7 separate regions of the Homo sapiens genome follow, and all the other regions are linked to region 1. Evidence: promoter capture Hi-C in human tissues and cell types (Jung and others, 2019). All regions are on one chromosome and are shown on one strand. Each heading gives the region's core, a stretch centred on a gene start or on the middle of the fragment in contact. The rest is flanking DNA. Distances are from core to core; before and after follow the strand shown. Region 1 holds the start of FBXL14 (F-box and leucine rich repeat protein 14). Region 2 overlaps WNK1 (WNK lysine deficient protein kinase 1). Region 3 overlaps RAD52 (RAD52 DNA repair protein). Region 4 overlaps WNK1 (WNK lysine deficient protein kinase 1). Region 5 overlaps WNK1 (WNK lysine deficient protein kinase 1). Region 6 has its middle 5.8 kb from the start of NINJ2. Region 7 overlaps RAD52 (RAD52 DNA repair protein).

What was found. Contacts are between HindIII fragments. The study calls those that stand out against the background at their distance.
Region 2: a fragment that was not itself captured here is called in contact with the fragment with the promoter of FBXL14 in region 1 in 2 of the 25 tissues and cell types used here (dorsolateral prefrontal cortex and spleen).
Region 3: a fragment that was not itself captured here is called in contact with the fragment with the promoter of FBXL14 in region 1 in 1 of the 25 tissues and cell types used here (dorsolateral prefrontal cortex).
Region 4: a fragment that was not itself captured here is called in contact with the fragment with the promoter of FBXL14 in region 1 in 1 of the 25 tissues and cell types used here (dorsolateral prefrontal cortex).
Region 5: a contact is called between a fragment that was not itself captured here and the fragment with the promoter of FBXL14 in region 1, in 1 of the 25 tissues and cell types used here (aorta).
Region 6: a fragment that was not itself captured here is called in contact with the fragment with the promoter of FBXL14 in region 1 in 1 of the 25 tissues and cell types used here (dorsolateral prefrontal cortex).
Region 7: a fragment that was not itself captured here is called in contact with the fragment with the promoter of FBXL14 in region 1 in 2 of the 25 tissues and cell types used here (adrenal gland and dorsolateral prefrontal cortex).

The regions. Positions count from the first base shown.
Region 1 is chr12:1,591,661-1,595,837 of GRCh38, reverse strand. FBXL14 (F-box and leucine rich repeat protein 14) reads left to right here and starts at 1,257. Exons shown (of 2, transcript NM_152441.3): 1 at 1,257-2,965. The coding sequence starts at 1,772. RefSeq lists enhancers at 553-622, 1,993-2,182, 2,700-3,303 and silencers at 883-1,752, 2,733-2,782. The HindIII fragment of the contact is 15,118 bases long and covers 1-4,177 here.
Region 2 is chr12:831,125-834,895 of GRCh38, reverse strand. All of the region lies in intron 4 of WNK1 (WNK lysine deficient protein kinase 1), which reads right to left. Among named protein-coding and RNA genes, the nearest start is that of WNK1, 80 kb to the right of the region's middle. The HindIII fragment of the contact is 7,038 bases long and covers 1-3,771 here.
Region 3 is chr12:937,006-940,672 of GRCh38, reverse strand. The region is part of intron 1 of RAD52 (RAD52 DNA repair protein); the gene reads left to right. Among named protein-coding and RNA genes, the nearest start is that of RAD52, 11 kb to the left of the region's middle. The HindIII fragment of the contact is 4,320 bases long and covers 1-3,667 here.
Region 4 is chr12:784,979-789,019 of GRCh38, reverse strand. The region is part of intron 1 of WNK1 (WNK lysine deficient protein kinase 1); the gene reads right to left. Among named protein-coding and RNA genes, the nearest start is that of WNK1, 34 kb to the right of the region's middle. The HindIII fragment of the contact is 4,373 bases long and covers 601-4,041 here.
Region 5 is chr12:889,989-894,011 of GRCh38, reverse strand. It overlaps WNK1 (WNK lysine deficient protein kinase 1), which reads right to left. Exons shown (of 28, transcript NM_018979.4): 22 at 3,499-3,559. Among named protein-coding and RNA genes, the nearest start is that of RAD52, 58 kb to the left of the region's middle. The HindIII fragment of the contact is 7,049 bases long and covers 1-4,023 here.
Region 6 is chr12:667,191-671,389 of GRCh38, reverse strand. No RefSeq gene overlaps it. Among named protein-coding and RNA genes, the nearest start is that of NINJ2, 5.8 kb to the right of the region's middle. RefSeq lists a silencer at 305-513. The HindIII fragment of the contact is 6,399 bases long and covers 1-4,199 here.
Region 7 is chr12:921,405-925,397 of GRCh38, reverse strand. All of the region lies in intron 7 of RAD52 (RAD52 DNA repair protein), which reads left to right. Among named protein-coding and RNA genes, the nearest start is that of RAD52, 26 kb to the left of the region's middle. The HindIII fragment of the contact is 6,705 bases long and covers 1-3,993 here.

The sequences.
Region 1 (4,177 bases), core at 8-2,507:
AGTTAAAATGAAACTTCTGAAATTCTATCCTTAGTACGGACATTTAGGACCCAGGGGCTACATCCTAGAATGGAATTGTGCCCTGCTTCCATAAAACGGTTGATAAACCAACAGACACGACTGGATTGTCTTAAACCAAGTTCAACTGTCATTCCATTTTAATCAAAAAGTAAATTGGATTCAGCATATACGAATATATTGACTATCAGTACAACTGAGCCATACAACTGATAGTCTAAGGCTGATGACAAGGAGAAAGCTCCTAAAACAAGGCTTAGGGGAAGGCTGTTCCCCTGTAAGCAAAGCGGACTGAGGGCATTGGTGGCGCAGCAGCGTTCAGAAGTAGAGGGAAGTTTTGATGTATCAAGTACCGAGGGAAACACACACAGCGTGTCTGGAAACCATCAGAAGATGCTAGAAGGAAGTAGTCATGGATAATTCTAGAAATTTCTAGAACACCGACTGGAGGGGGTCATTGTTTAAGATGAGTACAGCCGAGTTTCTCTCCAATTTAAGACACAAGACTGGAGAGAAAGGCGTCGTAGTAAACAGCCCCAACCGGGGGAGCAGGGGGTGTGATAATGAGGCGTTAAGGGGCATTAGGGACAGTAAGAAAAGGAGAGTTGGGGTGACGATTATTGAGCACTGCTATAGGAGGCGGCTCTCGCAGGGATAATCAAGGGAGAGGGGTGTGAAATAAGGGTAACGAATTGCAGGGGTAAACTGTGGGAAGGGGCTGCGCAGACTTCAACAGCAAAGAAAAAGAAGGAACGGGGCTGGGGCGTGGCCCAGAGAGGGAACGGCTCAATAACGGGCTACCGGGTGAAAAGAAGCCGGGTGGGGAGGCGCTCTGCTGACAGCTGCCGCTCCCCCGTGGCGCCCACAGGGTTAAAAATCAGGGGCCACGGGACCAGGCCGAACTCGGTTTCCAGGGCAACGGCTCCACAGTTCCGGCAGCGCAGGCCCGTACCATTGCGCGGGCGCGGGGGAGCGGGAGCGGCGGAGGGGACGCGCTGCAGGGCGGCGGAGCCGGGGCCGGCCCGGGCGCTACCAAACGCACGGCCCGCCTGCTCGCCCGGGGTCTGCGCCGAGCCGCGCTCCGGCCGGACGGCCGCGGCGTCCTTGGTGCGGGGGCCGGCAGCTCCCAAGTGGCCGCGGACGGCGGGGGAGAAGGAACGCACGCCGCCGGCCGGGATTGGCCTCCTGGTCCCCCCGCCTGGGCGGCGGAGTGCGGGCGGCCCGGGGCTGGGAGGTTTGAAAAGCGGGCGAGAGACAAAGGCAGCAGGAAGCCTCCTCCGCGCCCGGAGCCCGTGCGCCCGGCCCCCGGGGCCCCCTCGCCGCCCGCCGGCCCGCGGAGCAGCGGCGGCGGCAGGAGGCGGAGGATGCGGCAGGGGGCGTGGGCGCGGCGGCGCGGGCGGAGCGGCGCGGCCCGGGCGCGGCGTGGGTAGAGCCGAGGCGGCGGCGGCGGCCGGCCTCCGGGAGCGAGAGCGAGGCGCCTTCCCCGCCCGGGATGTGAGCGCCGTGCGGAGCCCGGGGCGGGGGAGGGCCGGGCCGGAGGCGCAGCCGGCAGGAAGGAAGGACGGACGGACCAGGAGGAGGAGCGGCGGCGGCGGCCGGAGCCGGAAGGCGGGGAGGGGCCGGCCGTTGGGCCCGAGGCGGCGGCGGCGGCGGCGGCGGCGGCTGGGGAGAAGCGCTCTCGTCGCCTGCCCGAGGCCGGAGCGGCGGGGCCCGCGCCTCCTCCCCCCAGCGCCGCGGAGGGGGGAGGAGGAAGATGGAGACCCACATCTCATGCCTGTTCCCGGAGCTGCTGGCCATGATCTTCGGCTACCTGGACGTCCGGGACAAGGGGCGCGCGGCGCAGGTGTGCACCGCCTGGCGGGACGCCGCCTACCACAAGTCGGTGTGGCGGGGGGTGGAGGCCAAGCTGCACCTGCGCCGGGCCAACCCGTCGCTGTTCCCCAGCCTGCAGGCCCGGGGCATCCGCCGGGTGCAGATCCTGAGCCTCCGCCGCAGCCTCAGCTACGTGATCCAGGGCATGGCCAACATCGAGAGCCTCAACCTCAGCGGCTGCTACAACCTCACCGACAACGGGCTGGGCCACGCGTTTGTGCAGGAGATCGGCTCCCTGCGCGCTCTCAACCTGAGCCTCTGCAAGCAGATCACTGACAGCAGCCTGGGCCGCATAGCCCAGTACCTCAAGGGCCTGGAGGTGCTGGAGCTGGGAGGTTGCAGCAACATCACCAACACTGGCCTTCTGCTCATCGCCTGGGGTCTGCAGCGCCTCAAGAGCCTTAACCTCCGCAGCTGCCGCCACCTTTCGGATGTGGGCATCGGGCACCTGGCCGGCATGACGCGCAGCGCGGCGGAGGGCTGCCTGGGCCTGGAGCAGCTCACGCTACAGGACTGCCAGAAGCTCACAGATCTTTCTCTAAAGCACATCTCCCGAGGGCTGACGGGCCTGAGGCTCCTCAACCTCAGCTTCTGTGGGGGAATCTCGGACGCTGGCCTCCTGCACCTGTCGCACATGGGCAGCCTGCGCAGCCTCAACCTGCGCTCCTGTGACAACATCAGTGACACGGGCATCATGCATCTGGCCATGGGCAGCCTGCGCCTCTCGGGGCTGGATGTTTCGTTCTGTGACAAGGTGGGAGACCAGAGTCTGGCTTACATAGCCCAGGGGCTGGATGGCCTCAAGTCTCTCTCCCTCTGCTCCTGCCACATCAGTGATGATGGCATCAACCGCATGGTGCGGCAGATGCACGGGCTGCGCACGCTCAACATTGGACAGTGTGTGCGCATCACGGACAAGGGCCTGGAGCTGATCGCTGAGCACCTGAGCCAACTCACCGGCATAGACCTGTACGGCTGCACCCGAATCACCAAGCGCGGCCTGGAGCGCATCACGCAGCTGCCGTGCCTCAAGGTACTCAACCTGGGACTCTGGCAGATGACGGACAGTGAGAAGGTCAGGTGAGGGCGGCAGCACCAGCTCCCCTTGTCCCGCCCTGTTCATCCTCCCATTACCACCGCCCCCACACACTCACACGCACACTTACGCACAGATCATTGCAGCGGATGAGATGGGGCTATGACAGAAGCCTCAGGCTCGTTTCCTCCTCCCTCCTCCAGCCCCCTCCCGGCTTCCAGCCCATTCTCTTTGCAGCTGGGGTTCCTACCCTACCCTACTCCCAGCTCCTTTTCCCCGCGGATGGAGAGATGGACTCTGCTGCTTACCCACCCACTCCCCTGCAGGGGGTGGAGGACTGATTCAGCTACTGTATCCCCACTGCTGTGACTGGAAATGGGGGTGGGGAGTGACTGGTCTTTTCAACCCTGGGGAGTTGAGGAAAATGTCTGCTTTCACTTCAGCTTTCATTTGAATACTGTGATCTGGTTTTTATTTTGAAATGTATAAAAAGCAAACCCAGCTACAAAGGCCTTTTCACCCTTCCACTTTGTAACTAATCCCAGTCTCTTCTCATCACTCCTCCTCTTACAGTACTCTGCTATTCATGCTCATTTCATGTTCTTAATCTTCTTTCCTGTTTAAAAATTTTTTTTTGGAAAAAATTTGAAATCATGGTCCTTTTTTCTGCTGAATATATTCTATATATTATATATATATAAATTATATATATATATATATACATATATATGTCTGGCTACCTCGTTTTAGTTTACTTTTTTTCTGAAGCCCTGGAATTCTACAAGAGAGATATTTTGAGACTGAAACATGTTTGTGCCTAGACTGGAAAGATGCCCTTGGGTTTGTCCGTCTTTTTGTGTTGGCTTCTTCCCAGCCTCCATCCGTCCAGTGTGCCCCACTTCCACATTCTGGCTATAATTTCCTTTTTCTCCTTGTTCATTGGGATTTGAGGACCTATTTCTAAATCTTAATTTATAGCACAAATATGTGGGAGCAATGAGAGTTGAACCGTTGTTTTTGTTGGAGATGCAGATTGTGTCTTGAAAATGATGATTATATATGCAAATTCTGCCCTACCCTCACCCTCTTCCAAGTTTCCCCCCAAAAAGGTCACACAGTGCGGCTTCCTGTGGGAAACAGGAGCAGAGCTGGCCTGCAGAGCCCCTGGGGCTGTGATGAAGCTCATATCTTATCTCTGTTCTATTAACAAAATGGGAGTTTGTGGGTTTTAAAAAATTCCGTTTCTAAATG
Region 2 (3,771 bases), core at 770-3,269, 760 kb after region 1:
GGATGCCTGGTGCTGCTTCACAATTATTATTTCCTAATCAGTTCAAAGTTTCATAGATGTTATTTTAAGCCTTTATCATCCTTAAAGGCCATCTTTCATTCTACACACCCCCCCAAGAAGATGACAACTCATATTTCATAGACAATAACCACAGCCTACTATCAGTACCAGTACTATCTACTGTGCTAAGCAATCTGTAAGAGGGTAATAGTATCTCTTTTACAGAGAACAAAATAATTGAAGTACAGAGAAATTAAGTGAATTGCTCAAGATCGTATGGCAATAACTAGGGCAAGGATGTGAACCCAAGACTTTGCTTCCAAAACCCATCTTGCTTCCCTTACCTCAGGAGAAAACCTTCCCTATCAAGACTTACCATTATACCATGTCACAAGCCCATTGAATCCTGGATATTACTCTACCCTATCCACCACCACCCACCATGATTTCTACTTCTCTCTCTCTTCCTCTTGCTCCTTCCAAAAGCCTATAAACAGATAAAGTCTCTTTCACCATTAAAATACAACAATATAATAGCAGTAAAAACACATATCAGCAGTCAGAAGTTTGCCTCTTAATTACCAACCGGAAACTCTCTGCTCTGAGATGAGACAGGATTTGGGAGCAGGAGAAACTAAGTAGCAATTGATTTGTCCTTGGATCAAAAATTGATTTGTCCAAGACAACAGCTTCACTCTATTTGATCAATTTGCCTTTCCTTCCATTGTACTACGGTGTTTGGCATCTCAGCATTCATGTAAATCCTATTCCTGCTTCTTAGAATGGCCTCTCACCATTCTTCTACCTTCTCTTTTTGACAGTTCATACAACAGCTCTTTTTGTGAAATCTTCCCTAATCCATAGCAGGGTTATCCATTGTTCCTCCACTCTCCTTAGTGCTTGTCTCCATTACAATACTCACCATAATGTAATTATAATTCTTTGTTTACATATTAATCTTCTATATTAGAGGTAGTTTTCTGAAGACAGGGAATATGATTATTCACCTTTACTTAGTATCAAGCTCTGGGCATGGGACATAGCAGGGATTCAGAAAATGTTGCATTTACTGGCACTGAGATTTATTTTGTATTTAGGATAGTGCTACAGATAAGGATGAAATTATACAGATGTACTAGATTAAAATATTTTAAGGAATATAAAGCAATAAAAATAATAAGCAAGTACATTAATTGAATTTATGAATTTATAAGTAGAATAACCACTAATAAACAAAATTTTATCATTCATATCAATTGAGAAGAATCAGCTCAGAAAAGGCAAAGATCATTATACAGTGAAACCAATCAGATAAAATGTCATGGAGGAAGACCGTTAAGTATATGGATTGACTGGATAGCAGAAAAGCTTATAGTGGAGGTACAGTATTATATAACATTTACAAATGGATAGGAATACAGGAAAGGATGTGGCATATGTGCGAGATAATGAAGAGAACTGATTTAACTAAAATAGAGTGCTTGGATGAAGATGAAGAATAGCAAAGATTAAGAATTTGTACTTGCTCTGATATCAGCAAACTGGTATCTTAAGTTCCTTATACCAAGAAAGGATAGCAAGAAAGCTCAACAAGTTTAAGTGAAATAAAAAAATAAATTCACAATGTAAATTACTTCTGGAATATAATGCAAGGTGTGCAGTAAGGAAGATGTGAAATCAGAGTTGTGGCAATGGGAATGAAGAAGGCTTGCATCTAAGAGGTATTCTGAAGCAAGAACCTTATAAACTGGAAGTAGTGGAAGCAGCGAGTAAAAAACAAGAAATCAAATATACCTCTTAAGTTTTCTACAATTTTAAACAAAATAAAGGAGGAAATTACCCAATAAACAGTCGACCCTATGCTCAAAGGAAAAAAAAAAAGAGAGAATGTAAATTACAACGCATCAGGGGAAGAAAGGGGAATAATAAGAGACATGAACTGGGAATGATGATACAGAACTCTGAAAGGCAAAGCAGATGAGCTTTCTAAGGGCATAAATGTAGAATAATGATTAGGGTACTTATCAGAATCATCTGAAGGCATAAAAAAATTTCTCCTGCCCCCATTCAGCCCAAATTGAGAGTCAGTGCTTCAGGGATTACAATTATATTGTGTATTAGAATCTGGGTGAGTATTAAGAAGAGGTTAATAAATTTAACAGTAAGGCCTCAGGCCAGACACTTGTAGACATACACCTAATAATAATAACTGACAAAATACCATCCCAATTACAAAGCCAGAAGTAACTTGAGAGTTACACACTTTCTCCATAAACAATAGCTGTCATTTTTACTGGGTATGAAACCTCAAACTTCATATGAAATTAAACTAATTGTCCAAAGTAGCTCCATATCCATCAACAACAGAATCACATACAAATATACAACAAGGATATTGAAGGAATATTCACAGCAATAAATAATTATAATTAATCTTTGACTCCAAAGATTTCTCCCAAGCCTTTATGAAGAGGTAAAATTTGGTCTACCTAAAGCAAAATGTTTCCTATCAGTTTTTAATAATAAACATTTCTGGCTCATGCCTGTAATTCCAGCACTTTGGGAGGCAGAGGTGGGCAGATCACAAGGTCAGGAGATCGAGACCATCCTGGCTAACACAGTGAAACCCCATCTCTACTAAAAATACAAAAAATTAGCCAGGTGTGGTGGCGGGCACCTGTAGTCCCAGCTACTTGGGAGGCTGAGGCAGGAGAATAGCGTGAACCCAGGAGGCAGAGCTTGCAGTGAGCCGAGATGGCGCCACTGCACTCCAGCCTGGGCGACAGAGCGAGACGCCGTCTCAAAAAATAAATAAATAAATAAAAAATTAAAAATAAACATTTCCATTCTGTTCAGCTATCAAAATCTAAATAAGCAATTGATAATTACATCTTCTATATCAAAATTCAATTAAATTACATCACTAAAAATGAAATAATGAGATACTATGAGCTTCTCGGTGCAATATAACATATACAGCACCACATATTAAGTATCCTTGCAAAAAATGTTTAGCCTAAATTTTATCAAGACTTTTGAACAGTGGTTCTCAAACTTTTGTCTCAGGACCCCTTTATACTCTTAAAATTAACATTATTGGGGACCTCAGAGGGATTTTGTCTATGTGTGTTACATCTATTAATATTTACCGTGGCAGATGGTAAACCTGAGAAAGTTTAAAAATGTTAATTCATTAAAAATTATAACTCATTATGTTACAAATATATATTTAAAATTAAAAAGTCAGTATTTTCCAAAACAAGAAAAATTTAGTGATAAGACTGGTATTGTTTTACATTTTTGTAATCTTTTTAAATATATGGTTTAATGGAAGACAAAGGAATTTTTTTTTTTTTTTGAGACAGAGTCTTACTCTGTCACCCAGGCTGGAGTGCAGTGGCACAATCTTGGCTCACTGCAACCTCCATCTCCCGGGTTCCAGAGATTCTCGGGCCTCAGCCTCCAAAGTAGCTAGGATTACAGGGGTGCACCACCACGCCTGGCTAATTTTTGTATTTTTAGTAGAGATGGGGTTTCACCATGTTGGCCAGTCTAGTCTCATACTCCTGACCTCAAGGGATCCACCTGCCTCGGCCTCCCAAAGTGCTGAGATTACAGGCATAAGCCACCACGCCCGGCCCTACAAATGAATTCTTTTATATGCTTCTGTATGTACTCTGCTGCAATATCATATGTGCAGTATCATATAGCCTCTGGAAAACAACAACGTACACTCTTGGGTGAATGCGAGTAAAAAAGACAAAATTATTT
Region 3 (3,667 bases), core at 680-3,179, 660 kb after region 1:
TCACAGCACAGTTTTCAGAGGGTACCCTTTCTCTTTGGTTTTGTTTTGTTTTGTTTTGTTTTAGACGGAGTCTTGCTCTGTCTCCAGGCTGGAGTGCAGTGGCGCAATCTTGGCTCACTGCAACCTCTGCTCACTGCTACCTCTGCCTCCCGGGTTCAAGCAATTCTCCTGCCTCAGCTTCCTGAGTAGCTGGGACTACAGGCACGCGCCACCACACCCAACTAATTTTTGTATTTTTAGTAGAGACTGGGTTTCATCATGTTGGCAAGGCTGTTCTCCATCTCTTGACCTCGTGATCCGCCCGCCTTGGCCTCCCAAAGTGCTAGGATTACAGGCGTGAGCCACCGCGCCCGGCCAACAGAGGGTACCCTTTCATTCTTTTTCTCCTTCTTCCCAGAAGGCTTGCGTTTTCAAGACTACCTCATCAAGTTCTGCATGTGTTTAAAAGTGTCTCTACCCGACCTTCCCTTCCTCCCTCCCGATTTAACGGAATTCTTTGTTGGTGTTTTCATACTTACCGTGAGTTTTCTTTTTCAGGGTGATATTTTAGTTCCATCTTAGGCTCTCCATTGTCCTCTTCTCTCTTCTTTTTTTTTTTGAGACAGAGTCTCATTCTGTCACCCAGGCTGGAGTGCAGTGGTGTGATCTCTGCTCACTGCAACCTCTGCCTCCCAGGTTCAAGTGATTCTCCTGCCTCAGCCTCCCGAATAGCTGGGATTACAGGCGCACACAACCACGCCCACCTAATTTTTGTATTTTCAGTAGAGACGGGGTTTCACCATCTTGGCCAGGCTGGTCTCAAACTCCTGACCTCGTGATCCGCCTGCCTCAGCTTCCCAGAGTGCTGGGATTACAGGCATGAGCCACCGCGCCCGGTGCGCCCAGCCCTCTTCTCTCTTCTTTGCATCTCTCTTCCTATCTGGATCCCTCTTTGCTGTCCTTAAAGAGCTGAGATGAGAGATTGAGAAACATCTCTACAAGAAATTGACGTTTTTCTACTTATGGGTAATTAGAAGCTTGTAGTATTTTCAGTCTTCTAAGTATGTTGAAGATATGAGACGTTGGTGATTTTCTTTGTTTCTCCGGTTGGTTGGTCTGTGTAGTTTTTGGACATGTGTTTGGATATTTGGATTTATATAGCTGCCATAATCTTGGCTATGCAGGTAGTCTTTCCTGACACTTCATCCTGAAAGATTTGAAGCCTTTGGACAAATTTTACAGTGGGCTGGGTGCAGTGGCTCACGTCTGTAATCCCAGTGCTTTGGGAGGCTGGGCAGGAAGATTGCTTGAGCCCAGGAGTTTGAGACCAGCCTGGACAACATAGTGAGACCCGTGTCTCTACAAAAAATAAAAAATATGCCGTGTGTGGCGTTATACAACTGTAGTCCCAGCTACTTAGGAGGCTGAGGTGGGAAGATCACGAGCCAAGGAGTTTGAGGGTACGGTGAGCCATGATCGCCTCACTGCACTGGGTGGCACAGCGAGACTGTCTCAAAAAAAAAATTTACAATTAATGTCTGCATATCCTTCACCTAGGTTCATAAATTTGTACTTTTGCTTTATCTACTTGCCTTTTTCTCTCTCTCTACACACACACACACACACACACACACACACACAATTAGTTGAATGAATTGAGAGTAAGTTGCAGAAAACATGACACTTTACTCCAATATTGCATCATACAAAATCATACATCTAGTGATAGGCCATTGTCCTACAGAATCACGATATAATTATCACACTAACCAGCTGTGGTGGTGCACACCTGTAGTCTAAGCTACTCGGGAGGCTGAGGCAGAAGGATCACCTGAGCCCAGGAGGTTGTGGCTGCAGTCTCATATTCATCCCATCATCAGATTTCTCCCATTGTCCTAATAATATTCTTTATAGCTTTTCTTTATCCCTGATCCGAAATTTCATTGAAGATCACACAGTGCATTTAGTTGTCATGCCTCTTAAGTCTTTATTTATTTATTATTTATTTTTTGAGATGGAGTCTTGCTCTGTTACCCAAACTGGAGTGCAGTGGCATGATCTTGGCTCATGCAACCTCCACCCGCTGGGTTCAAGTGATTATCCTGCTTCAGCCTCCCGTGTTGCTGGGACTACAGGTGTGTGCCACCATGCCCAGCTACTTTTTATATTTTTAGTAGAGACGGGAATTGTACCATGTTGGCCAGGCTGGTCTTGAACTCCTGAGCTCAGATGATCCACCCGCCTTGGCCTCCCAAAGTGCTGGGATTACAGGCGTGGGCCACCACACCCAGCCTTAAGCCTCTTTTAACATAAAAGAGTTCACCAGCCATTCTATTTTGTTTTGCTTTTTGAGACACTGATGCTTTGGAGAGTCCAGGCCAGTTGCTTTGTAGATTTCAACTTGTTTGATTGTTTCCTGATGATTAGGTTGGTAGAAATACTACCTCAATGATGGGACCTTCTTAGTGCGTCCATCAGGAAGCACATGATGTGACTGTAATTGGTGACATTAAGTTTGATTCCTTAATAATTAAGGTGGTAACTCCCAGGTTTCTACATTGTAAAGGCATCTTTTGCCGCCCTCCTTTTTATTCCCAAGTAGTTTATTTGGAGATTAGTCCTTTACACAGTAGAGGAGCGGGGAAGGGAGACAGGAAAGGAAAGTTTGACAACAAAGGGTGAGTTTTCAAGCCTGTTGCCACGGGGGAACCTAATTCCACTGGAGAAGCTCATGGCTTGGTGATGTTCCACAGAGGGGTCAGAAATTTAGCGTATTTCAACACCAGCTCCTGTCAGGCACCATTTGAGGGCTGCTGCCAGGGTGGTTCAATTTTCTGGTGCTTACAGCTTGCCATAAACAGGTGCAAAGTAGTCTGGATACCAAAGAAAGCTCTCAGGTAACAAGATGCAGATGTTGGCATTTGGAAGTCAGAATAGGGTGCACTATTGTGGTAAGAGCTGAAGGGATGGCTGGGCGCGGTGGCTCACACCTGTAGTCCCAGCACTTTGGGAGGATGAGGCAGGCGGATCACCTGAGGTCAGAAGTTCGAGAGCAGCCTGGCCAACATGACGAAACCCCGTCTCTACTAAAAATACAAAAATTAGCCAGGCGTGGTGGTGGATGCCTGTAATCCCAGCTATTCAGTAGGCTGAGGCAGGAGAATTGCTTGAATCTGGGAGGTGTAGGTTGCAGTGAGCTGAGATCACACCACTCTGCACTCCAGCCTGGGTGACAGAGCGAGACTCTGTCTCAGAAAAAAAAAAAAGCTGAAGGGATGCTGAGTAGAGCATCCGTAGTGTCTGCTATACCTGGGTACCCTAGAACCTGGAGAACCTACAGCTTGAGGCAAGAGCGTATGTGCTATTATTTTTTCAAGAAGTGTGCTCTCAGGAAGCAGAGGTAGGGGAAAGGTGAGTGAAGGGAGAAGGAAGATTAAGTCAGTTCAAGGGTGCATTTTGAAGTTGGTTGCCCTTGGTGCAAGTACAGTTGGTTGCTTGTTCTCCTAAAGCTGTCTCCCAGGAGGATGTATACATAACTGCATTCCAGGGCAATCCATCTAAAGGAAGGGTGGACGGACCCCTCAGCTTCTGTATCTCACTGGAAAAAGGTTTGCTTCATGGCACATTAATTCCCATAGACTTCTAGGTTGTGCATGTGTGGGTACCAGGTGGGTCCCACAGACCCTTA
Region 4 (4,041 bases), core at 1,538-4,037, 810 kb after region 1:
GTGGCCTTCACATTTGAGAACCAACTAATAAACCTTCCCACAAAAACTGTTATAAGCAAAGGTTAAAGTCTAAACTATTAATATTACTGGCACCAAACAGATGTTTGCTCACTTACCTTTCTTTTTCCCCCCCGAGACAGAGTCTTGCTCTGTCACCCAGACTGGAGTGTAGTGGCACGATCTCGGCTCACTGCAACCTCCGCCTCCTGGGTTCAAGCAATTCTCCTCCCTCAGCCTCCTGGGTAGCTGGGATTACAGGCAACTGCCACCACGCCCGGCTAATTTTTATATTCTTAGTAGAGACGGGGTTTCACCATTTTGGCCAGGCTTGTCTCAAACACCTGACTTTGTGATCCACTTGCCTCGGCCTCCCAAAGTGCTAGGATTACAGGCGTGAGCCACCTCACCCGGTCCTCTCACTTTCATTTTTAAATATATTTTTCATATGTAACATATTTCAGATATACTGTCTGGGTATCAGCTTTTGCTGGTTATTCTGGGAACAATCATTTCCGGTACTGGCATTACAGGCCTTTCTCACTTAAGTCAACAAACAACTCACAAACTTTTAGAAATATGGTCCATTAGTGCATAAGTTGATCTCATGTTAGCAGAGTATAACTATGAATTATTATTTTACTAAAAATATGGACAATGTTTAATTTCCATATAGTATTACACACAGTAGCTTTTTTTTTAATTTCAAGAAGCTGATATGAAGGACAATCTATTGTGAAATAATATACTCATCTGTGATGGTTAGTTTTATGTTACAATTTTGCCACAGTATTCAATTATTCTATCAAATACTAACTAGGTGTTGCTATAAAGGTATTTTTGTAGATATGGTTAAACCTACAATCAGCTGACTTTATGTAAAGGAGACTACCCTCAATTATGTGGTTGGGTCTCATCTAATCACTTACAAGGCAGTAAACTGGGATTTCCTGAGAAATCCTGGCTAAAGGTGCAGCATCAGCTCCTGTGCTAGAGTTCCCAACCCAATGGCCAGCTCAACCAGAAGACAGATTTCAGACTTGCCAGCCCCAACAACCAAGTAAACTAATTCCTTGAAATTACATATAATATCTATCTGTTATATACAAAATCTCCTAATGGTTTTGTTGCCTTGGAGAAACCTGATACCATTTTTCACACTAAAATTACACACACACGCACACACACACAATGTAAAGCATCCACATATCCATGACAACATCTAAGTTTTTAACATTTTTTTGTTGTGCCTGTCCTGAGATGGTCAAAGAGTGGAAATGCACAGAGGTCCTCAGCCCAGCAGAAGACAGATGGTCTTTACAACAGAGCAGCCTACATACATTAAAGTGTGTAAGAATAAGGAAAACCGACTTACACAAAAGATAAAGATTTTTTTTAAACACACAGAAAGCTAATATAGGTTAAGAACCAGGCAAGCATTAAACACAGGAACCCACAAGAACTACGCTAATAATGTAGTTTCAAGCTTTTGTTAATAACTGACACCTAATAATAGCTAACATTTATTGACTTCCAGACCCTGTTCTGGTGCTTTACATATATTAACATATTTAAACTCAACAACACCTCTGTGAAGTAGGTACCTACGTGGGCTTGGTGGCTCACGCCTGAAATCCTAGCACTTTGGGAGGCTGAGGCAGGAGGATCACTTGAGCCCAGAGTTTCAGATCAGCAACAGTGAGACCCCATCTCTACTTTAACCAAAAAAGAAATGGATGCACAAGAGGATTACAATAAAAAAGTGGCAAAGCCAAGCCAAGGTGTAAACAGAAGCTGCCTTGTTCTAGAGTCTGTGCTTTGCCATTCCACAATACCACCTATAAAAGTAGAGAAATAATTTTATTTTTATAAAGTAGATTTATAGTCTAATATGTAGGTGTTTTAAAAATTAACAATGAAAAATACATAATTTCATTTAAGTCACTTAAATAATGAAAATTACATAAAAGATAGACTACTAGGTGTAAAATGCAAAGAAAATAAATCTATCTAAGAAAGGCAAGGCAGAAATAAAACACATAGAAGGCAGGAAGAAGACCAACTCCAAACATACCAATTAAAACACATAGAAGGCAGGAAGAAGACCAACTCCAAACATACCAATTATTACTATAAATGTACGTTAAAGTTCTCTATTACAAAAAACCTGTGGAACAGGCTTTAAAAAAAAGTCTAAACACTGTTTATTTATAAGAAACACATCAAAATTAAAATGACATAAAAAAGAAGATAAAGGGCCAGGCACAGTGGCTCACACTGGTAATCCCAGCACTTTGGGAGGCCAAGGTGGGTGGATCACCTGAGGTAAGGAGTTCGACACCAGCCTGACCAACATGATGAAACCCTGTCGCTACTAAAATGCAAAAATTAGCCAGGCCTGGTGGCAGGAGCCTATAATCTCAGTTACTCAGGAAACTGAGGCAGGAGAATCACTTAAACCCATGAGGCAGAAGTTGCAGTGAGCCAAGATTGTGCCACTGCACTCCAGCCTGGGCAACAAGAGTGAAATTCTGTCTCAAAAAAAAAAAAAAAGGGAAGATAGAGGAACAAATAAAACAAATGTGAAAAAAGAATGACAATATAAAAAGGGAATGTGTTAAGCAAAGAGAATTATTTGAGAAAATGCTGCATATTTTATATTGATAAAAAGTACAATTATTTACGTATATAACATTCATGCTTAACCCAGCCTAAATATAAAGCTATGAATATATAACATAAAAACTGTTAGAAATACAAACGGAAATTGACAAATCCACAATTATTTTGTAGGGCTGACACGTTTATCAAATATCAGCTAATCAAGTAGTCTAAGGCAACAAAAATACATGGAATTTAAGCAATACAATTAACAAATACAGATTTTTTCCCTTAATAAATACTATTTTCAAATAAACATAGAACTTCAATTTTTACAACAGCATACATTAGACTATAAATAAAAAGTTTTAATAAAATCTCTAAAGTGGAAATCACATAAAGCATAAGTTATACTTTGGCATATAAAACTAGGGATCTGAGTAGCATAAATGAACAGCTCTAAAGATCCCAACATCTGCATTTCATAAGATGCCAGAACAGTACAGTCAGATTATACTGGGGCCCACAATCAGCAAACCGCATTTATTTATCAGTTTTCAGTGCCCAACTCAAATGCGACAACCAAGGCTCATGGGATTACTTGAAAAAAGTCTTTAAAGAGCATCCAATCTACATGGGAAGCAAAAAAATAAATAAATAAAATTAAAGAGCAACTAAAATCAGTAACAAATAACAACAACCAAAAAAAGGAACCTGGAAAAGGCAGGGTCATGTGGTGGCTCACGCTTGTAATCCCAGCACTTTGGGAGGCTGAGGCGGGTGGATCACGAGGTCAGGAGATCCAGATCACCCTGGCGAACACGGTGAAACCCCGTCTCTACTAAAAATACAAAAAATTAGCTGGGCGTGGTGGCGGGTGCCTGTAATCCCAGCTACTCGGGAGGCTGAGGCAGAACTGCTTGAACCTGGGAGGTGGAGGCTGCAGTGAGCCAAGATCACACCATTGCACTCCAGCTCTGGGTGACAGAGCAAGACTCCACTTCGAGGGGGTGGGGGGGGGGGAGAAAATGATATGGACGTTAGACCATTGGTCTAGGAGAACCAACATATATGTAACAGGAGTTCTGGAAGGGGCAACATAAAAAACAGAGGGCAAGAAATGAAATGAGTAGAAGGTAAATTTTCAGAATTGATGGCCAGTGAGTTTCCAGACAAAAAGCCACAATGGAAAAAAGAGACCCATACCAAGGCACATTGCTGAAATTTCAAAACGCTGAGGACAAGACAAAAAACCTGAAAACTTCCAGAGGAAAAAAACAATAGGTTACAGGGAACAGAGAATCCTACTAGCCTCAGACTTTAACAGCAATACTGGAAGCTAGAAGAAAATAGAATAAATGTCTTTAAAATTCTGAAATAAATTATTTCCAATCTAGAATTTGTTATCCGAACTACCTATTAAAGAGGAAAGGGAAAGGAAGA
Region 5 (4,023 bases), core at 180-2,679, 700 kb after region 1:
TCCTGACCTCAGGTAATATGCCTGCCTCAGCCTCCCAAAGTGCTGGGATTACAGGTGTGAATCACCATGTCCAGCCAAGATCCATTGTTAAATGAAAACCAGCTAATTTTATTTTCTCAATGTAACACTGGCAAATTCTAGAATAGGATAGTACAGTTCTCAGAATTATTATTATTATTATTATTATTTGAGATGGAGTCTCACTCTGTTGCCCAGGTTGCAGTGCAGTGGTGCGATCTTGGCTCACTGCAAGCTACACCTCCCAGGTTCATGCCATTCTCCTGCCTCAGCCTCTCGAGTAGCTGGGACCACAGGCGCCCACCACCACACCCGACTAATTTTTTGTATTTTTAGTAGAGACGGGGTTTCACCGTCTTAGTCAGGATGGTCTCGATCTCCTGACCTCGTGATCTGCCCGCCTCAGCCTCCCAAAGTGCTGGGATTACAGGCGTGAGCCACTGCACCCAGCCCTCAGAATTATTTAGTTTTGGGCAATTTAAAAACCTTTCCGGGGAACAATGCTTTGAGTTTCTTTCTAGAGATATATTTATTTTATACAGCTAGTAGAACATTGAGCGATTTTTATGTTTTCATGTAATTCTATATCTTTGAGATCATTCCATATCAATGCCTCATTCTTTTTAATGATTGCATAGTGTCATACCCTATGTATATACCATATATATATTTCATATTTAATCAGGCTTCTACTGATGGGCATTTAAATTATTCAGAATTTCTTTTCTTTTTTCCCTGAGACAGGGTCTCACTCTGTCACCCAGGCTGGAGTACAGTGATGCCATCACAGCTCACCACAATCTCAACCTCCCAGGCTCAGGTGATCCTTCCTCCTCAGCCTCCTGAGAAGCTAGAACAACAGGTGCACACCACCACATCCGGCTAATTTTTAAAATTTCTTGCAGAGATGGGGGTCTCACTATATTGCCCAGGCTGGTCTCGAAATCCTGGGCTCAAGCAATCCACCTGCTTTGGCCTCCCAAAGTGCTGGGATTAGAGGTGTGAGCCACCATGCCCGGCCCAGAATTTCTTGCTATTTTAGAAATAAATATTCTCTTATAGATCTGTACAATAAATATACCACAATGAAAGTGCTGAATTATTTCCATTTAAGACTGTAGTAGACATCACTATTATAAACTGATCCCCCCAGAGGCTGTACCAAGTCACTGGTGGCTATTAGACCCCTGAATTTACCAATGAGAGGTGGGAATTGCTATCACTTGTAGCCTTACTTTGTGTTTCTATCATTACGGACATTAAATATTTTCATGTCTAAGTTTCCTTTTCTGTTATCTTTTGATTGTTTTTTGGTTCATGTTGAATTTTAGGAACTCTTTGTATTAGCAAAACGAGTTCTTTTTGTGATATGACTACACATACCCCTCCCCCTCCCACAAATATATATATTTCCCCAGTTTTTCATTTATATTTGCAATCGGTGGCACTTTTCTTCCATGAAGAAAATTTTATATCTATTACTACTTGCTTCTGGATTAGACATTGAACTTAACACCTCTATTAAACTTATCTGAGAACTCCAAACTGATCCATGGACCAAATTCAGCCTACTGCCTGTTTTTGTAAATAAATTCTATTGAAACACAAACTCATTTATTTATGTATTGTCCATTGCTACTTGTGAGATCTGAGTAAGTTGCAAGAGACTATATGGTCTAGAAAGCCTAAAATTTGTACCATCTCGCCCTTTACAGAAAAAGAGTTTGTGAACCCTGCTCTAGATAGTTGAAAAAAATCCCCTTGGGACGGGGGAGGGATGGCATTAGGAGATATACCTAATGCTAAATGACGAGTTAATGGGTGCAGCACACCAACATGGCACATGTATACATATGTAACAAACCTGCACGTTGTGCACATGTACCCTAAAACTTAAAAGTATAATAATAATAAAATTAAAAAAAAAAAAGATTTCCAAGCCACAAAAAAAAAAAAAAGTTAGTTATAATGTGGGATCTGAAATAATAGTAATAAGATATTCATAACTGTGGCCATTAAAATCCATTGACCTATACATTTTTTTGTTCATGCATGATTTTTTTTTTGAGACAGGGTCTCACTCTGCCACCTAGGATGGAGTGCAGTGGCAAAACCATAGCTCACTGTAGCCTGGAACTCCTGGGCTCAGGCAATCCTCGTCTCAGCCTCCCGATTAGCTAGGACTACAGGCATACACCACCACAGCTGGCTAAATTTTTGTCTATAGTGAAAAAGGAAAATAATGTCTTAGTTTTACTGTAAAATAGTGTTGCCCTCATAGGCACCCCAAAAGGGTCCTCAGCCCACACTCCAAGAACTGATGCCTTAATACTATGCAATTCTCAAGTTGTTATTACTAATAAATTAAAAAACTAAAAAAAAAAAAAAAAAGAAAAAAAATCCCCTTATGATTTCATATAGTACTATTTTATGATATAATATTTCATCTTTGGTCCACTTGGACTTTACTTATGTCTAGGCTAGTGATCCACCTTTGCTTTTTTCCAGATGGCTTTCAAGTTGTTCTAAACCACTTATAAAAATATTCCATCTTTCAGCCAGGCGCGGTGGCTCACGCCTGTAATCCCAGCACTCTGGGAGGCCGAGGCGGGCAGATCACCTGAGGTCAGGAGTTTGCGACCAGCCTGACCAACAGGGAGAAACCCTGTCTCTACTAAAAATACAAAATTATCCAGGTGTGGTGGTGCATGCCTGTAATCCCAGATACTTGGGAGGCTGAGGCAGGAAAATCGCTTGAACCTGGGAGGTGGAGGTTGCAATGAGTCGAGATGATGCCACTGCACTCCAGCCTGGGCAACAAGAGCAAACTCCACTTCAAAAAAAAAGAAATATTCCATCTTCCAATGATTTGAAAAGCTACCTTTTTCATATTCTACATTCTCTTTTTATTGGTAGTAATCTTTATTATTTTCATTGTACATACTTGATACTCTACATATTTTGATAATCTACATTCCCCTTTCATTTTTCCATTTCTAGACCATTCTAATGATTTGCAAATCACTTTTAAAATGAGAGCCAATTGAGAATATAATTGCCTTGAAAATAAAAATGTTTAAATTGATTAACTGAAATCTTACATTTGTATTTCAATACAAATATATGTCCAGACTATTCAAGCTTCTATCCCTATATATCCAGTGTCACAAAAGCTAAGAGGTTATCAGTAAATTTACTTTTCTAAATACAGTATGCTTTAATTTCCTAATCTCTAATAGCAAGGATCTGGCATAGCTAATAATGAAGGGTCTTATCATTACCTCCTGTATAACCTTTCCTCTGACAAATAATAACGGAACAGATTTATTAATTTGCTAATCTTTCAAGCTTTAGATATTACTACCAATGCTCCTCAGTTATCAAATACGTGGAAATGTGTCTTTGAAACGGTAAACCTCCTGAATCAACTACGGGTAGGGCTGGAATTAGTAATATAAAAGGAGGAAGGATGTTTCTCACCACCCTTCTGAGGCTGTGTTCCTGCTTCTGTGATTGCTGTTGGAGCCGCCATGGACACAGGCTGTAAAACACACACAGACAGACACCACAAATCTTTAGCTTCAGTCACTCAAACTTTTGCCTCGTTGCCTTTCCTATGGTCTTTGTAAAAGGGCAGAAAGACAGTATATGTGATGAAACACTTATGTCTGAGAACATTTTATCTTCTTTCCTTTTTCTTTTAAAGTCTAAAAGTCTGATGTAAAGAAAGGCACCTTTTAGGGCCAGGCATGGTGGCTCACACCTGTAATCCCAGCATTTTGGGAGGTCAAGGTGGGCAGATCATTTGAGGTCAGGAGTTCGAGACCGGCCTGGCCAACATGGCGAAACCCCGCCTCTAATAAAAACACAAAAATTAGCCGGGTGTGGTGGCGGGCACCTGTAATCCCAGCTACTCGGGAGGCTGAGGTAGAAGAATCACTTGAACCTGGGAGGTGATGGTTGCAGTGAGCCAAGATCGTGCCACTGCACTACAGCCTGGGTAAC
Region 6 (4,199 bases), core at 1,605-4,104, 930 kb after region 1:
AGTGGTGTGATCACAGATTACTGCAGCCTTGAATTCCTGGGCTCAAGCAGTCCTCCCAACTCAGCCTCCTGAGTAGCTGGAACTACATACAGCTGCTTGCCACCACACCAGGCTAATTTATTTTTCGACACAGAGTTTCGCTCTTGTCACCCAGGCCAGAGTGCAATGGCACGATCTTGGCTTACTGCAACCTCCACCTCCTGGGTTCAAGCAATTCTCCTGCCTCAGCATCCCGGATAGCTGGGATTACAGGCATGCACCATATGCCTGGCTAATTTTTGTATTTTTAGTGGAGATGGGGTTTCACCACATTGGCCAGGCTGGTCTCAAACTCCTGACCTCAGATGATCCATCCGCCTCAGCCTCCCAAAGTGCTGGGATTACAGGCTTGAGCCACCATGCCCAGCCCAGGCTCACTTTTTTAAAAAATCATTTGTAGAGAGAGAATCTCCTTATGCTAGTCTCGAACTCCTGGACTTAAGTGATCCACCCGCCTCAGCCTCCCGAAGTGCCGGGATTATAGATGTGAGCGGCTGCACCCGGGCCTGTCTCTTAAGTTTTCATCTATGAGTTCCTTCTTTTCTTTTTTCCTCTAATTTATTTGTTGAAGAAACCAGGTCAGGTTGTTTGCACTGTAGAATTTCCCAGGCTTAATCCATCCCTGAGTGTCTGTAATATGTTCCTGTCTTCCCTGTGTTTCCTATAAACTGGAAATTAGATCTAGAGCATATTCAGTTTCAATATTTTTGGCAAGAATGCTTCATAGGTGGGGTGTCTGAGGAACACTTTGTCAGTTAAAAAGGTCCTGTGGGCCAGCATCCTGTCTGCTGCCTGGATAAGTGGCTATAATTTTGACTGTGCTTTGTAAACCTTCTTTTCCCTTTTCTTTTCTTTTCTTTTCTTTTCTTTTCTTTTCTCTTTCTTTCCTTCTTTCTTTCTTTCTTTCTTTCTTTCTTTCTTTCTTTCTTTCTTTCTTTCTTTCTTTCCTTCTTTCTTTCTTTCTTTTATTTTGACGGAGTTTCACCCTTGTCACCCAGGCTGGAGTGCAGTGGCACAATCTTGGCTCACTGCAACCTCCACCTTCCGGGTTCAAGAGATTCTCCTGCCTCAGCCTCCCAAGTAGCTGGGATTACAGGCGCCTGCCACCGCGCATGGCTAATTATTTTTTTTTTTGTATTTTTTTTTTTTTAGTAGAGCGGGGTTTCATCACGTTGGCCAGGTTTGTCTTGAACTCCCAACCTCAGGTGATCCAACCGCCTTGGCCTCCCAAAGTGCTGGGATTACAGGTGTGAGCCACTGCTCCTGGCCTTTTTTTCCTTTTTTAAATATCACTTCAAGACTTGAAACCTCCACACAATTTTGTGTGACTTGGGGTTGCCCAGCCCCCCCACACACCAGCCCTTAGAGGCTTATTACCATATGCCTCCTGAGCAGAAGTCCATTGGTTCCCAAGAGGTGCCTTAAGGGGCAGCTCGAGAAATGGAACGGGGCAGTTGCGGGGGGTAGGTGGCGGGACAGATAGGGCAGAAGTGGATGTGACTCTAGCATTCAAACAGCTTCACTTTAATCTGCTTTATGTTAACTTCCACATAAGATTACGTTTAAGAAAAGGATTTCTTATCTTTAAAAAGTTTGCAAACCACTGATCTTTGTCTCTCTCCTATCACTAAGAAAAGATCATCTATTCCTCTCCCTTAAGCCACCAAGAGAGTGCCAGGCACCTTTTTTTTTTTTCTGAGACGGAGTCTTGCTCTGTCGCCAGGCTGGAGTGCAGTGGTGTGATCTCAGCTCACTGCAACCTCCCCCTCCCGGGTTCAAGCGATTCTCCTGCCTCAGCCTCCCAAGTAGCTGGGACTACAGGCGCGCGCCACCATGCCCAGCTACTTTTTTTGTATTTTTAATAGAGACGGGGTCTCACCATCTTGGCCAGGCTGGTCTTGAACTCCTGACCTCGTGATCCACCCGCCTCAGCCTCCCAAAGTGCTGGGATGACAGGTGTGAGCCACCGCGCCCAACCGGAGGCTCTGTTTTTAATCATTCATTGAACAGTGAGTCACAGTTAAAATCCCCCTCCTCTGAATGTGAAAGAGTGAAGGGAAATTTTACTCACCACCACCAAGAGCATCCCCAGGCCTCGTGGGGCATTCCCACGAGAGCTGTGTGCCCTGACTTCCTATTTGTGTGAAGTCAGGCCCCGTGAGCATCTATCAAGGCGTGAGCAGCCAAATAGAAGTGACACATACACAATGACAGGATTCTAAATGTGGAATTTTGGTTGATAGCTCCACTGGCCGAGAAGGTGGCTACTAGCTACTTAAATGTAACCACGTAAATGTGAACTTAGAGGCTGGGCGCAGTGGCTCACGCCTGTAATTCTAGCACTTTGGGAGGTCGAGGTGGGCGGATCACCTGAGGTCAGGAGTTCGAGACCAGCCTGGTCAACATGGTGAAGCCACGTCTCTACTGAAAATACACAGAAAAATTAGCTGGGCATGGTGGTACACGCCTGTAATCCTGGCTACTCAGGAGGCTGAGGCATGAGAATTGCATGAACCTGTGAGGTGGAGGTTGCAGTGAGCTGAGATCACGCCAGCACACTCCAGCCTGTGGGACAGAGTAAGACTCTGTCTCAAAAAAAAAAAAAAAAAAAAAGTGGGGGGTGATTTTAGGCCAGGCACAGTAGCTCATGCTTGTAATCCCAGCACTTGGGAAGGCTAAGGTTGTGGATTACTTAAGCCCAGGAGTTCGAGGTTGCAGTGAGCTATGATTGTGCCACTGTACTCCAGCCTGGGTGACAGAGTAAGACCCTGTCTCTAAAATAAATTTAAAAATAAATAAAATCAAAATATGTGAATTTATTGAAACTAAATCAGATTTAAAACTCAAATTCCTACTCAGCCAACCAAATTTCATGTGCTCAATTGGCTAATGTGGCTAATGGCTACTATATTGAAGAGTGAAGATGGAAATGTTCAATAACATTTACTGCACTACCAGCTCCCTCCATAGGCCCTCAGAAAGCTTCCCTTTGCCATCCCTGTTGGCCCTGGGATTCCTGGAGAAGTGAATTTGAAAGCAGCTGAGTTCATGTGTAAATGGGCATAAGCAAGTTTGTAAGAATGTTTTGAAGTCAGCTTTTATTCTCACTTCTGTATCTTGTTTGACGTGGGTATGCCCTACTCAGTCTCCATGAGCAGGGGCAACAGACAGTGGTAATTTTCCCTAAAATTTTTCTAATTACATAAATTTTCCATCAGGGAAGGTCTTATTGGTAAAATTAAACTAAAAGCATTAGATTCTTCTTGCTCTGCTTCAATTTTTTAAAAAGCCAATAATTTCTAGCCCTCAACTTTTACACACTGAAATTCAGACCTGTATCTGAGATTTTATATTGTTACACAGGAAGTATTTAATATAAACTTTTTTTTTTTTTTTTTTTTTTTGAGACAGAGTCTCACTCTGTCACCCAGGCTGGAGCGCAGTGTTGTGGTCTCGGCTCATTGCAACCTCCACCTCCTGGGTTCACGCCATTCTTTTGTGCCTCAGCCTCCCAAATAGCTGGGATTACCGGCATGCACCACCAGGCCCAGCTAATTTTTGTATTTTTAGTAGAGAGGGGTTACACCATGTTGTCCAGGCTGGTCTCAAACTCCTGACCTCAGGTGATCTGCCTACCTCGGTGCTGGATTACAGGTGTGAGCCACGACACCTGGCCAAAACACACATTAGAAACAGAATTTAAGAGCTAGAGGGATCTTAGGAATCAACTCTTTTGATAGCTTCACATTCACAAACAAGAATGTAAGCCCCAGAGAAGTTAAGTGACTTGCCTAAAAACACAGTGACTCAGCACACAGAGAGGAATCCAGGCCACCTGGCTTTCACCCTAGAGCTTTTCCCACAATTCAAAATTAAAGGATCTTCTTGCTGTTGCCTTCTTCAGTACCCTACAACAATGCTTTGCTCCTTCTACATAGCAAGATACCTAGGGTCTCATTGTAGACCCCTCATTCCATGAAACTAGACTCAGAGTAGTTTCTGAGTCACTCTGAGTGTCTACTTATCTGTAAGTTCAAGGATATTCCAAAATATGCTTTCCAAGAGACAGTCTCCCTAAAAATGTCCCTCTGGCTTTACACCACAAAAATCACCCTAGCAGTAAAGAACAATAGAAACCATTTCCACCCACAGTGATAACC
Region 7 (3,993 bases), core at 1,464-3,963, 670 kb after region 1:
GTCATGGGTTGAGTATTTGGAGGATGCAAGGAGAAAAAGTGAGGACTCAGCTCTTTAGAGGGTCGGGAATGTTGATTTCAGATTTCGAATGTTAGAGACAGCAGGAACTAATCCCAACATTTTCCTTTTTTCTAAAGTACATCATGTGGGCCGGGGACCGTGGCTCACGCCTGGAATCCCAGCACTTTGGGAGGTGGAGGCAGGTGGATCACAAGGTCAGGAGATCGAGACCATCCTGGCTAACACGGTGAAACCCTGTCTCTACTAAAAATACAAAAAATTAGCCGGGCGAGGTGGTGGGCGCCTGTAGTCCCAGCTACTCGGGAGGCTGAGGCAGGAGAATGGCGTGAACCCGGGAGGCAGAGCTTGCAGTGAGCCGAGATGGCACCACTGCACTCCAACCTGGGCGACAGAGCCAGACTCCGTCTCCAAAAAAAAAAAAAAAAAAAATCACACCATTTGACAAGAATGTGAGGTCTAGAGAATTTGTGTACGTGTAGGTAGTGAACTGTGGTTGGGGGTAGTCTGTGAAGCCTCAAAGCAAGCACACAGCCCTCTGCAGCACCACTGTCCTTCCCAGACACTCCCAGCCTCGCTGTTGAGCCTTCTTTCTTTTCCTTAGTTCTGGTGTCATTACATGTCTGATGTCATTACAATGTCATTTACATGTCCATTATTTCTGTCAATACCTATAACGTGATCTGAGCCTTTGCCTTTGGAGAATGGGGTCTGTGGTGGGGCAGCCCTGGAGTCACACTGCCTTGCCATGAGTGGCTTCTGGAGTGTTCCTCCTGCCTCATCTGCTCTCCGAGGTCCCTGCCATGTCGCTCCCCAGGGCAGCATTCCCATCCTGTGCCTGAGGGATTCTTGTCCTCATGGAGCCCCACAAGGTGTGTGTCACTGGGCATCTGTAAAAACTCCTTTAAAAAAATCATTTTTAAACATTATTGGATTCAGTTTGCTAATATTTTGTTAGACTTTTTTTTTTGAGACGGAGTCTCGCTCTGTCGCCCAGGCTGAAGTGCAGTGGTGTGATCTTGGCTCACTGCAACCTCTGCCTCCTGGGTTCCAGCGATGCTCCTGCCTCAGCCTCCTGAGTAGCTGGGATTACAGGTGTGTACCACCACGCCTGGCTAATTTTTGTATTTTTTTAGTAGAGACGGGGTTTCACCATCTTGGTCAGGCTGGTCTCGAATTCCTGACCTCATGATTCGCCTGCCTCGGCCTCCCAAAGTGCTGAGATTACAGGCGTGAGCCCCCGCGCCCGGCCTTTGTTAGGCATTTTTGCATCTATGTTTATGAGAGATATTAGTCAAGTTTTCTTTTTCTTTTTTTTTTTTTGAGATAGTCTCACTCTGTCGCCCAGGCTGGAGTGCAGTAGTGTGATCTCAGCTCACTGCAACCTCTGCCTCCCGGGTTCATGCCATTCTCCTGCCTCAGCCTCCCAAGTCGCTGGGACTACAGGTGCCAGCCACCACCATGCCCAGCTAATTTTTTTATTTTTAGTAGATGGGGTTTCGTCCTGTTGGCCAGGCTGGTCTTGAACTCCTGACCTCAAGTAATCCGCCTGCCTCGGCCTCCGAAAGTTTTGGGATGACAGGCGTGAGCCACCGCACCCGGCCTTTTCTTTTTTTAAATTGTAGTAAAACACATCACATTTTAACTATTTTTAGTGTGTGGTCGAGTAGTGTTAAGTGTATTCCCATTGTTGTGAAATTGATCTGCAGAACTAAGACCCTGCACCCGTAAAACAAGAACTCCGCATTTCCCCCTTTCCCAGACCCTTGTAACTACTTCCACTTTCTTTCCTTTTTTTTTTTTTTTAATTTATTTTATGAAAGATGAGGTCTTGCTCTGTCAGCCAGGCTGGAATGCAGGAGTGCCATCATAATTCACTGCATCCTTGCACTCCTGGGCCCAAGGGATCCTCCTGGATCCTCCTGCCTCAGCCTCTCAGGTGGCTGGGACTACAGGTATGTGCCAGTGCACCTAGCTAATTTATTTTTTAAACAATTATTACTATTTTTTTTGTAGAGACAGAATTTCTCAGGGCTGGTCATGAACTGCTGGGCTCATGTGATCCTCCTGCCTCGGCCTCCCAAAGCGCTGGGATTGCAGCGTGGGCCACTGTACCTGGAGCCAGCTAATTAACTTTTTTTGGGGGCTTTTTTTTTTAAGAGGTGAGTTCTTGCTATGTTGCTGAGGCTGGTCTTGATCTTTTTTTCTTTTTTAAAAAATTAGGTTAGGCGCTGTGGCTCCTGCCTATAATCCTAGCACTTTGGGAGGCCGAGGTGGTTAGATCACTTGAGCCTAGGAGTTTGAGACCACCCTGGCCAACATGGTGAAACCCTGTCTCTACTAAAAAATACAAAAATCAGCTGGGCATGGTGGTCAGCCTGCCTGTAATCCCGGTGGTCAGCCTGCCTGTAATCCCAGCTCTTCTGGAGGCTGAGGCATGAGAATCGCTTGAACCTGGGAGGTGGAGGCTGCAGTGAGCCAAGATTGCACTACTGCACTCCAGCCTGGGAGACAGAGTGAGATTCTGTCTCAAAATAATAATAATAAAATATAAAAATAAAATACTTTTTTGTGTGTGGTCATGGAGTTTTGCTATTGCCCAGGCTAGTCTCAAACTCCTGGCTACAAGCGATCCTCCCACTCAGCCTCCTTAAGTGCTGAGATTATAGGTATATGTGTCTACTTTCTGTTTCTGTGAATTTGTCTACTCTGGATACCTCATATAAATGGAATCACATAATTTTTGCTTTTTGTGACTGGCTTATTTCACTTAGCTAGCATTAATGCCTTTAAGATTCATCCATGTAGTAGTGTGTATCAGAATTCCCTTCTTTTTGTGGCTGAATATTCTGTTGTATATATAGACCACATTTTGTTTATGCATTCATTTGGTGATGGGGATTTGGGTTGCTTTCAACCTCTTGGCTATTGTGAATAATGCTGCTATGAACGAGGGTGTGTAACTCTCTTTGAGATCTTGCTTTCAATTCTTTTAGACATATTCTGAAGGGGATTGCTGGGTCATGGTAATCCTATTTTTAATTTTTCGAGGAGCTGCCACACTGATTTTCATACAGTTGCCCCATTTTACCATTCCACCAACAGGGCACATGAGTTCAGATTTTTCTAAATCCTAACCAGCACTTGTTATTTTCTGAGTTTTTGGTTTTTTTTTTTTTTTTTTTTTTAAGCCAACCTAATGGGCGTGATATTTTATTGGGGTTATGATTTGCATACCCCTGATGATTAGTGATGTTGACCATATTTTCTTTTTTGAGACAGAATCTCACTCTGTTACCCAGGCTGGAGTGCAGTGGCACAATCTTGGTTCACTGCAACCTCTGCCTCTGGGTTCAAACAATTCTCCTGTCTCAGCCTCCCAAGTAGCTGGGACTATAGGCGCCTGCCACCATGCCGGGCTAATTTTTGTATTTTTAGTAGAGATGGGGTTTCACCATGTTGGTCAGGCTGGTCTCGAACTCCTGACCTCAGGTGATCCGCCCGCCTTGGCCTCCCAAAGTGATGGGATTACAGGTGTGAGCCCCCGCACCCAGCCAACCATATTTTCATATGCTTGTTGGCCATCTGTTTATCGTCTTTGGAGAGATGTCTATTCAAGTCCTTTGTCATTTTATTTTGTTTTATTATTTTAATTTAATTTCTTTTATTCATCTCATCTCATCTCATCTCATGACAAGATCTCGCCCTGTCACCCAGGCTGGAATGCAGTGGTCTGATCATGGCTTGGCTCCCTGGAGCCTCGACATCCTGGGCTTGAGTGATCCTCCCACGCAGGCTGGAGGGCAGTCGTGTGATCTCGGCTCACTGCAGCCTCTATATCCCAGACTCAAATGATCCTCCTGCCTTAGCCTCCCAAGTAGCTGGGACTACAGGCATTTGCCACCATGCCAGGCTAATTTTTTTATTTTTTGTACAGAATACAAAAAATTTTACCGTGTTGCCCAGGCTGGTCTC